Regions from separate parts of the Homo sapiens genome. Here all the other regions are linked to region 3. The links are contacts of gene promoters, found by promoter capture Hi-C in blood cells and fetal thymus (Javierre and others, 2016). All regions are on one chromosome and are shown on one strand. The core of a region is centred on a gene start or on the middle of the fragment in contact, and the rest is flanking DNA. Distances in the headings are between cores, read along the strand shown.

What was found. Contacts are between HindIII fragments. The CHiCAGO score rates a contact against its expected background, and 5 or more counts as called.
Region 1: a fragment that was not itself captured here is called in contact with the fragment with the promoter of OR10AD1 in region 3 in 1 of 17 cell types (endothelial precursors); the score reaches 5.2 in endothelial precursors.
Region 2: a fragment that was not itself captured here is called in contact with the fragment with the promoter of OR10AD1 in region 3 in 1 of 17 cell types (endothelial precursors); the score reaches 5.7 in endothelial precursors.

The regions. Positions count from the first base shown.
Region 1 is chr12:48,538,033-48,540,732 of GRCh38, reverse strand. No RefSeq gene overlaps it. Among named protein-coding and RNA genes, the nearest start is that of OR8S1, 14 kb to the right of the region's middle. The HindIII fragment of the contact is 2,735 bases long and covers 1-2,666 here.
Region 2 is chr12:48,567,357-48,570,056 of GRCh38, reverse strand. LALBA (lactalbumin alpha) reads left to right here and starts at 11. Exons shown (of 4, transcript NM_002289.3): 1 at 11-169; 2 at 817-975; 3 at 1,465-1,540; 4 at 2,040-2,373. The coding sequence starts at 37. The coding sequence ends at 2,100. The HindIII fragment of the contact is 749 bases long and covers 917-1,665 here.
Region 3 is chr12:48,202,032-48,204,731 of GRCh38, reverse strand. It overlaps OR10AD1 (olfactory receptor family 10 subfamily AD member 1), which reads left to right and starts at 1,440. Exons shown (of 1, transcript NM_001004134.1): 1 at 1,440-2,393. The coding sequence starts at 1,440. The coding sequence ends at 2,393. The region is part of intron 1 of LOC102725258 (a long non-coding RNA gene); the gene reads right to left. The HindIII fragment of the contact is 3,232 bases long and covers 1-1,971 here.

The DNA of each region.
Region 1 (2,700 bases), core at 50-2,549, 340 kb before region 3:
TTTCTCAGTCATTTAAGGTTTCATAACTATACATTAAGATTTTCCCCTTCTTGTCTCTTACTGGGGGTTGATGTTATGCTGACCCTAGAGTAACTGTGGTGTTGGTGACCACAGGCATCTACTCACTGGTGGCCTGCCTTGGTTCTATGCTGATTTCCTGCTCCACATGTGACTCATCCCCTCTGGCCCTCAGGTGTGGCCCTCTCTCTCCTGGTAATCTAGCATGGCGTAGATGATCCTTATCCAGTTGCTGGCAAGGCTGTCCAAGGCATATTTGCTAAGTCAATTTCCTTTTGTTCTGGTCATAAGACCCTTTGTGGGTGTAGTATACTATTAGAGACATACTGTGGCTACAAGATTAACAATAACCATAAGGCCCACTCAAATATCACACATGGCCCACACTATATGTCACTTAGCAGTATGATGCAAGGTGGCCTGGGGATTTCCAACTCTGGCCAGAGTATTACTAGGACAAGTTGCATCATCATATATAGTGTAGGTCCTGTGAGATGTTTGAGTGGGCCTTATGGTTATCATTAATCTTACAGCTGCAATATGTGTCTTATAGTATACTACAGTGGGCTGCTAACTCTCTCGTAAGCTGACATTCTTTTTTTTTTTTTTTTTTTGAGATGGAATCTCCCTCTGTCACCTAGGCTGGAGTGCAGTGGCGCAATCTTGGCTCACTGCAACCTCCGCCTCCCGGGTTCAAGCGATTCTTCTGCCTCAGCGTCCCGAGTAGCTGGGACTACAGGTGTGCGTTACCATGCCCGGCTAATTTTTGTATTCTTAGTAGAGACGGGGTTTCGCCATACACGCCAGGCTGATCTTGAACTCCTGACCTCATGATCTGCCCTCCTCAGCCTCCCAAAGTGCTGGGATTACAGGTAGGAGCCACCGCACCCGGCCTGTAAGCTGACATTCTTGCCCTACTAGTAGTCACTGCCTTCCCCTGTCATTCTAAGGCTAAGGGGAACTCAGGAAAGGATCTCTTACCTCTTATACCTGTACAATTCATTCTTCCATTTCTTGTTCATAGTGGTTGCACCATATTTTGCAGGGAAGTTCTCAAGGGACTTGCCATTTTTCTGGGTCCCAACTAACCTTATGATGATAAGAAAGAGAGAGGACATGTTTTGGGGAATGAAAACATGATGCTTACCATTTAGCTCATTTAGCTATGCTCATTTTTCTGCCCAAGTCCACTTCTCATTTCTCTTTTCATGTACTCTTTAGGGACCAACCTGAGTGGGAACAGAGGTGAAGCCAAGGCTTAAGAGTGGTGGCAGCAAGAGAACTCCCACGATTGCTAGTCATGCTAATTTAGCCTTTCCACCATTTTCCTTTCCTTTGGAGTTTGATGGATACTTTCTGTGTAAAGGGAAAGGATACTTAACCTAAACTATTGATTGTTCCACCACTTGAGTTCTAGGGCTATTGTAATAAGTCAGAGTTAAGTAGAGAAGCCTGACCCTTCTGAAATGTCTACTGAATTCTATTCCCAAACCACTTGTATCACATATAGTATGGTATCACTGGATCAGAAGGGAGTCAGTGATTGCCTGCCTTATTTCCTCTCCCTTCTGACACTTATCCCCACCCCAAACACTTGTAATTCTTTTCAAATGAGATTCAGTGTTTTTGTGGGGTCATTCCTATGGGTCTGAGATGTAAACACAGATACCTAGGCACAGTGACTGCGTTGAGGGGTCATCTGAAGGCATGCAGCCTCCTTGTATATCCTCATTCTTAAATAGGAAAAATAAATGTCTTTTCAATATTTCATTAAATACACCAATACATCCTTCCCCCCAGCTTTTATGAGGTATAATTGATGAACAAAAATTGTATATATTTAAGATATGCAAACTGATATTTTGATATATGTATACATTGTGAAATAATCACCGTAATGGAGCTAATTAACATATCCATCATCTCCATACTGCTTTTCATAGAGGTTGTACTAATTTACATTCCCACCAACAGTGTATAAGCATTCCCTTTTCTCTGCATCCTCACCAACATCAGTTATTTTTTGTCCTTTGAATTCTAGCCATTCTGACTGGTGTAAGATGATATCTTATTGCAATTTTAATTTGTATTTCTCTGATGATGAGTGACGTTGAGCATTTTTTCCTATACTTGTTGGCCATTCATATGTCTTCTTTTGCAAAATATCTATTTACATCCTTCTTTCACTTTTTTTTTTTTTTTGAGATAGAGTCTTGCTCTGTCACCCAGACTGGAGTGCAGTAGTGCAATCATAGCTCACTGCACCCTCAACCTCCTGGGCTCAAGTGATCCTCCCACCTCAGCCTCCCCAGTAGCTGGAACCACAGACTCACACCACCATGCCCAGCTAACTTTTTAATTTTAATAGAGACGGGGTCTTGCTACATTGCCCAGGCTGGTCTTGAACTCCCGGCTCAAGTGATCCTCCTGCCTCGATGTCCAGATGTGTTGGGATTGCAGGCATGAGCCACTGCACCTGGCCATTTGCCCACTTTTAAATAGGATTATTTGTTTTTGTTGTTGTTGTTTGCATTCCTTGTACATTCTGAATATTAATACCCTGTTGAATGCATAGTTTGCAAATACTTTCTTGCATTCTGCAGGTTGTCTGTTCATGTGTTGGTTATTTCTTTTGCTTTGCAGAAGCTTTTTAGTTTAATTAAATCTCATTTATTTATTTTT
Region 2 (2,700 bases), core at 42-2,541, 370 kb before region 3:
TGATGCTTCCATTTCAGGTTCTTGGGGGTAGCCAAAATGAGGTTCTTTGTCCCTCTGTTCCTGGTGGGCATCCTGTTCCCTGCCATCCTGGCCAAGCAATTCACAAAATGTGAGCTGTCCCAGCTGCTGAAAGACATAGATGGTTATGGAGGCATCGCTTTGCCTGAATGTGAGTTCCCTGCCTCTGTGTTTCATCCATTCCTCATACGCTTCTCTCCTCCATCCCCTCTTTCTTCCACTTCGCCCCTCCACTTTTACTTAATTATCTAATCATCCTCTTTTCTGCTCATTTGCATACTCTTTTATTTCATGTATGTATATATGTATGTATTTATTTATTTTTGAGGTGGAGTTTCGCTCTTGTTGCCCAGACTGGAGTGCAATGGTGTAATCTCGGCTCACTGCAACCTCCGCCTCCTCGGTTCAAGTGATTCTCCTGCCTCAGCCTCCCAAGTAGCTGGAATTACAGGCACCCACCACCATGCCTGGCTAATTTTGTATTTTTTGTAGAGACAGGGTTTCACCATGTTGGCCAGGCTGGTCTCAAACTTCTGACCTCAGGTGATCCGCCCTCCTCAGCCTCCCAAAGTGTTGGGATTACAAGCGTGAGCCATCATGCCTGGCCCCATTTATTTTCCTATCCTTTCTTTCTCTTATTGTCTGATTTTTTTTTGGAATTCTCCATCTCATCAAGAAACTCTGAGCTTTGCCATCTTTGGAGATTGGCTGGAAAGCATTTTTGTCTGAGAATTACAGTTCCTCCTTTATGCAGATCCTGTACATCTCTGTGGTATCTCTTTCTCATCTTTCCCTCAGTGATCTGTACCATGTTTCACACCAGTGGTTATGACACACAAGCCATAGTTGAAAACAATGAAAGCACGGAATATGGACTCTTCCAGATCAGTAATAAGCTTTGGTGCAAGAGCAGCCAGGTCCCTCAGTCAAGGAACATCTGTGACATCTCCTGTGACAGTGAGTAGCCCCTATAACCCTCTTTCTCTGTTTTTCTGAGGCCTGCCCTTGGGATAATCTCCTTTTTAGTGCCAAGCAGACCTCAGGCTTCATTGCCTTGGCTGGGCTCTATAAAAATTGTGGGACTTGAATTGGCAGTACTGAGTAAGAAGCTGTTTGGATTTTTCATGGTCATCAAATCCCCAGACAGTTCCTTGAGGTTCAGTGGTAGACAATCGGAGCTGTCTGAGAGTCTTGGAATCTGATTGTCTGCATTTTCAGGGTAAGTCAGTTGATGAAGCTGATGATTCCTCCAGAGATATCCCAGGGAAATGAAGGAAGTCCCTACCCAGGGTTAGACATTACCACATTGGTCCTTTCATATAGAAAGACAACAGGCACAAGCCTTGAGTTTAGAGAACCCACTGGATCCAGGGGTTAGGGGAACTCAGTGCCTTTCTGGGTAATACTTGTCAGCTGTCTCAATCCTTTCCCTGTAACTCCTGCCAGAGTTCCTGGATGATGACATTACTGATGACATAATGTGTGCCAAGAAGATCCTGGATATTAAAGGAATTGACTACTGGTGAATCCTTATTCTATTTTCTATTTCCCCATCCTCCTTCTCCTTACCCCATTAGCCCAGCACCCCTTTCCTCTTACCCTATCTCTTGGTCATTTAATCTAGAATACAGTGTCTGAAACAAAGCTTACCTAGAGACTCAGGTTTCTGTTATTAAGCCTCTCTCGCTCCGCTCCTTGGTAGCAATTTTCCTAATAAGGGGTTGCCTAATGGAGGGCTCAGACCCAGGCCTCCTTTCACTTAGACTTGGACATCTAATTCCACTTGTTTAGTTCTATGCCCTAAAGCAAGCTGTTGGTAACATTGCATCTCTTTTTTAACCCTACAATTTTCTTGGATATTTTTTATGGACTGTATTCCACTTGATGGCTTGTGTCGCTTGACATCAGGCCAGGAATGTCTTTCTGTAATTCTCGTCCACGCTCTTCCACTTCAGCCCTCCTGGGAATGAATGTAAAGATTCAGTCAGCTAACTCACCTTGTCCCCCTTCTCCATTATCAGGTTGGCCCATAAAGCCCTCTGCACTGAGAAGCTGGAACAGTGGCTTTGTGAGAAGTTGTGAGTGTCTGCTGTCCTTGGCACCCCTGCCCACTCCACACTCCTGGAATACCTCTTCCCTAATGCCACCTCAGTTTGTTTCTTTCTGTTCCCCCAAAGCTTATCTGTCTCTGAGCCTTGGGCCCTGTAGTGACATCACCGAATTCTTGAAGACTATTTTCCAGGGATGCCTGAGTGGTGCACTGAGCTCTAGACCCTTACTCAGTGCCTTCGATGGCACTTTCACTACAGCACAGATTTCACCTCTGTCTTGAATAAAGGTCCCACTTTGAAGTCACTGGCTGTAATTTTTTTCCCCCTGGAGGGAAGGGGAAGAAATAGGATGAGTAGGTGGACACTGAAGCCATAGGTCATAGCCACCTTCCATCTCTACTGAAGAAGAAGTAGGCTGAATTTACAATAGAAAGGTGAAGGTTACTGTCTGTACCAACTCAATGCAACAAACTTTTATTGATCACCTAATCTATTCAAGGAACTGTAGACGGATCCAAAGTTGGCTAAACACTGGCCGGGTGCAGTGCTTCCACCTGTAATTCCAGCACTTTGGAAGGCTGAGGTGGGCAGATTGCTTGAGGTCAGGAGTTTGAGACCAGCTTGGCTAACA
Region 3 (2,700 bases), core at 191-2,690:
AATGAGAAAAGGAGAGGGAGAAGAATGAGGATTGGAAGTAGACTGAAAAACGAAAAAAGACTAACAGAGGGTAGTGTGAGAGTGTGTAGAAAAGAGAGTAGGAGAGGAGAAAATAAAGAGAAATGGTTGGCAGAACTGAAAGTTAAGCAGGAATATACTTATCATCTATAAGCATCTGAAGATGAGGATGGGTGCAGTAGCTCACATCTGTAATCCCAGCACTTTGGGAGGCCAAGGCAGGAGAATCACTTAAAGCCAGAAGTTCAAGACCAGCACAGGTGACATAGTGAGTACCTGTCTCTATAAATTCTTAAAAAAAAAAAAAAAAGTATAAGCATCTGAAGGTGGAAGGGATCTGATACATCTTAGCTCCAAAACAACATGAAAAGTATAAGACAGACTTAATATGAACATAACAACTTCCTAAAAGTTACAATAGAGAGATAAGAGCATAAGAATTGTGACCGCTCATTCTTTGAAAATGGAAAAAGAACAAGATTTGTTGCCAGAGACAAAGAGACAGTTGAAAGTTCTCTGAAGGTCCATTCTAGAAAGGTTAGATATATGCCCTGCTCATAGCTTCCCTTTTCACACAGGGATGGTTGGATCCTTTCCACCCAATTGTGTGTAACCGTAAATTCCAGCCCCAGGAGGAAAACCATCTCCTATTAGGAAGGCATGCATGAGCCCCCACCCAGCCCTCAGCTCCAGCATGCACAGCATGGGTGGCTGCGGTAGCAGCAGCAACTGCTGGGCGAGTGAGTCTGGGAAGAGGTGGGTGACTGGGAAGAGCTTGACATGACTGTCTCCAAAAAGGTGCAAATCACTGTTAGCTGAGGGACAATTGTGAGGATTAGAATGTTTTTATTTTCCCTGAAACTTCAACCCATTCATCATTTTAAATTAGGTACACAGAGGTTGAGCATTTTTGCTTCTAGAAAAATACACCTTCAAATATCTCAAGTGCTTCCTAAATACAATCTTCTATAACCTGATAGCCACCAGCCCTTTCCCTCACACACTCCATTCTTCAATTCCTAAAACTTTTCCTCAGTTGGCATGGTCCCAGACCCAATTATCTTATTTTTTCACCTCTGAATACATCCTGGTTAATGGCTAATCCTTCAATATTGAGGGCTCTGGAGCAGATGCAATACTTCACTTGATGCCTGATGAAACCAGAGTAAAGAACATTACAACCAGCACTTTCTTCATCTGTTGATATTATGATTCTATGTATGCAGCCTGTGATGACCCTGGCATTTTCACCACCCCGTAACACTGCCAAATTACTAGTTTACTAAGTTCCAAAAGGTTGACCACCATTCATCCATCCTGTTTTATAATTGGGCTTCTGGGACCAAGTGGGTACCTTCTATTACCCCACAGCTATACCCTTGTGCTTTTCCCATCATCTTTCCTCCTCAAACAGGCCCCAGATGCTAAGGAATGGCAGCATAGTGACGGAATTTATCCTCGTGGGCTTTCAGCAGAGCTCCACTTCCACACGAGCATTGCTCTTTGCCCTCTTCTTGGCCCTCTACAGCCTCACCATGGCCATGAATGGCCTCATCATCTTTATCACCTCCTGGACAGACCCCAAGCTCAACAGCCCCATGTACTTCTTCCTCGGCCATCTGTCTCTCCTGGATGTCTGCTTCATCACCACTACCATCCCACAGATGTTGATCCACCTCGTGGTCAGGGACCACATTGTCTCCTTTGTATGTTGCATGACCCAGATGTACTTTGTCTTCTGTGTTGGTGTGGCCGAGTGCATCCTCTTGGCTTTCATGGCCTATGACCGTTATGTTGCTATCTGCTACCCACTTAACTATGTCCCGATCATAAGCCAGAAGGTCTGTGTCAGGCTTGTGGGAACTGCCTGGTTCTTTGGGCTGATCAATGGCATCTTTCTCGAGTATATTTCATTCCGAGAGCCCTTCCGCAGAGACAACCACATAGAAAGCTTCTTCTGTGAGGCCCCCATAGTGATTGGCCTCTCTTGTGGGGACCCTCAGTTTAGTCTGTGGGCAATCTTTGCCGATGCCATCGTGGTAATTCTCAGCCCCATGGTGCTCACTGTCACTTCCTATGTGCACATCCTGGCCACCATCCTCAGCAAAGCCTCCTCCTCAGGTCGGGGGAAGACTTTCTCTACTTGTGCCTCTCACCTGACTGTGGTCATCTTTCTCTACACTTCAGCTATGTTCTCTTACATGAACCCCCACAGCACACATGGGCCTGACAAAGACAAACCTTTCTCCCTCCTGTACACCATCATTACCCCCATGTGCAACCCCATCATTTATAGTTTCCGCAACAAGGAAATTAAGGAGGCCATGGTGAGGGCACTTGGAAGAACCAGGCTGGCCCAGCCACAGTCTGTCTAGCAGGAAGGCCCTGAAAGGAAAGCTCCTTCACCTGGGGAATGGGAGAGTTACCCCATCCCCAGCCCTGGCAGATGAGTAACTCTCCTATGCTGAAAGGCTCCAGGAAAGAGCGTTCATGGCTTCCTTGGCACTAGAATCAGACCTGAAAGTTCCTCCTGATGTCCAATGTCCTGATGTTATCTCTCTGACTTCACTTCCACATTGTTTTTTCTTGGACCTTCCTCGGGAGAATTTCGGATTTTCCTTAGTTTTTTTCCTCAGTTTCTTTTCCTCTTAAGTTCTCACAACAGGATTCAATAAATAAGTG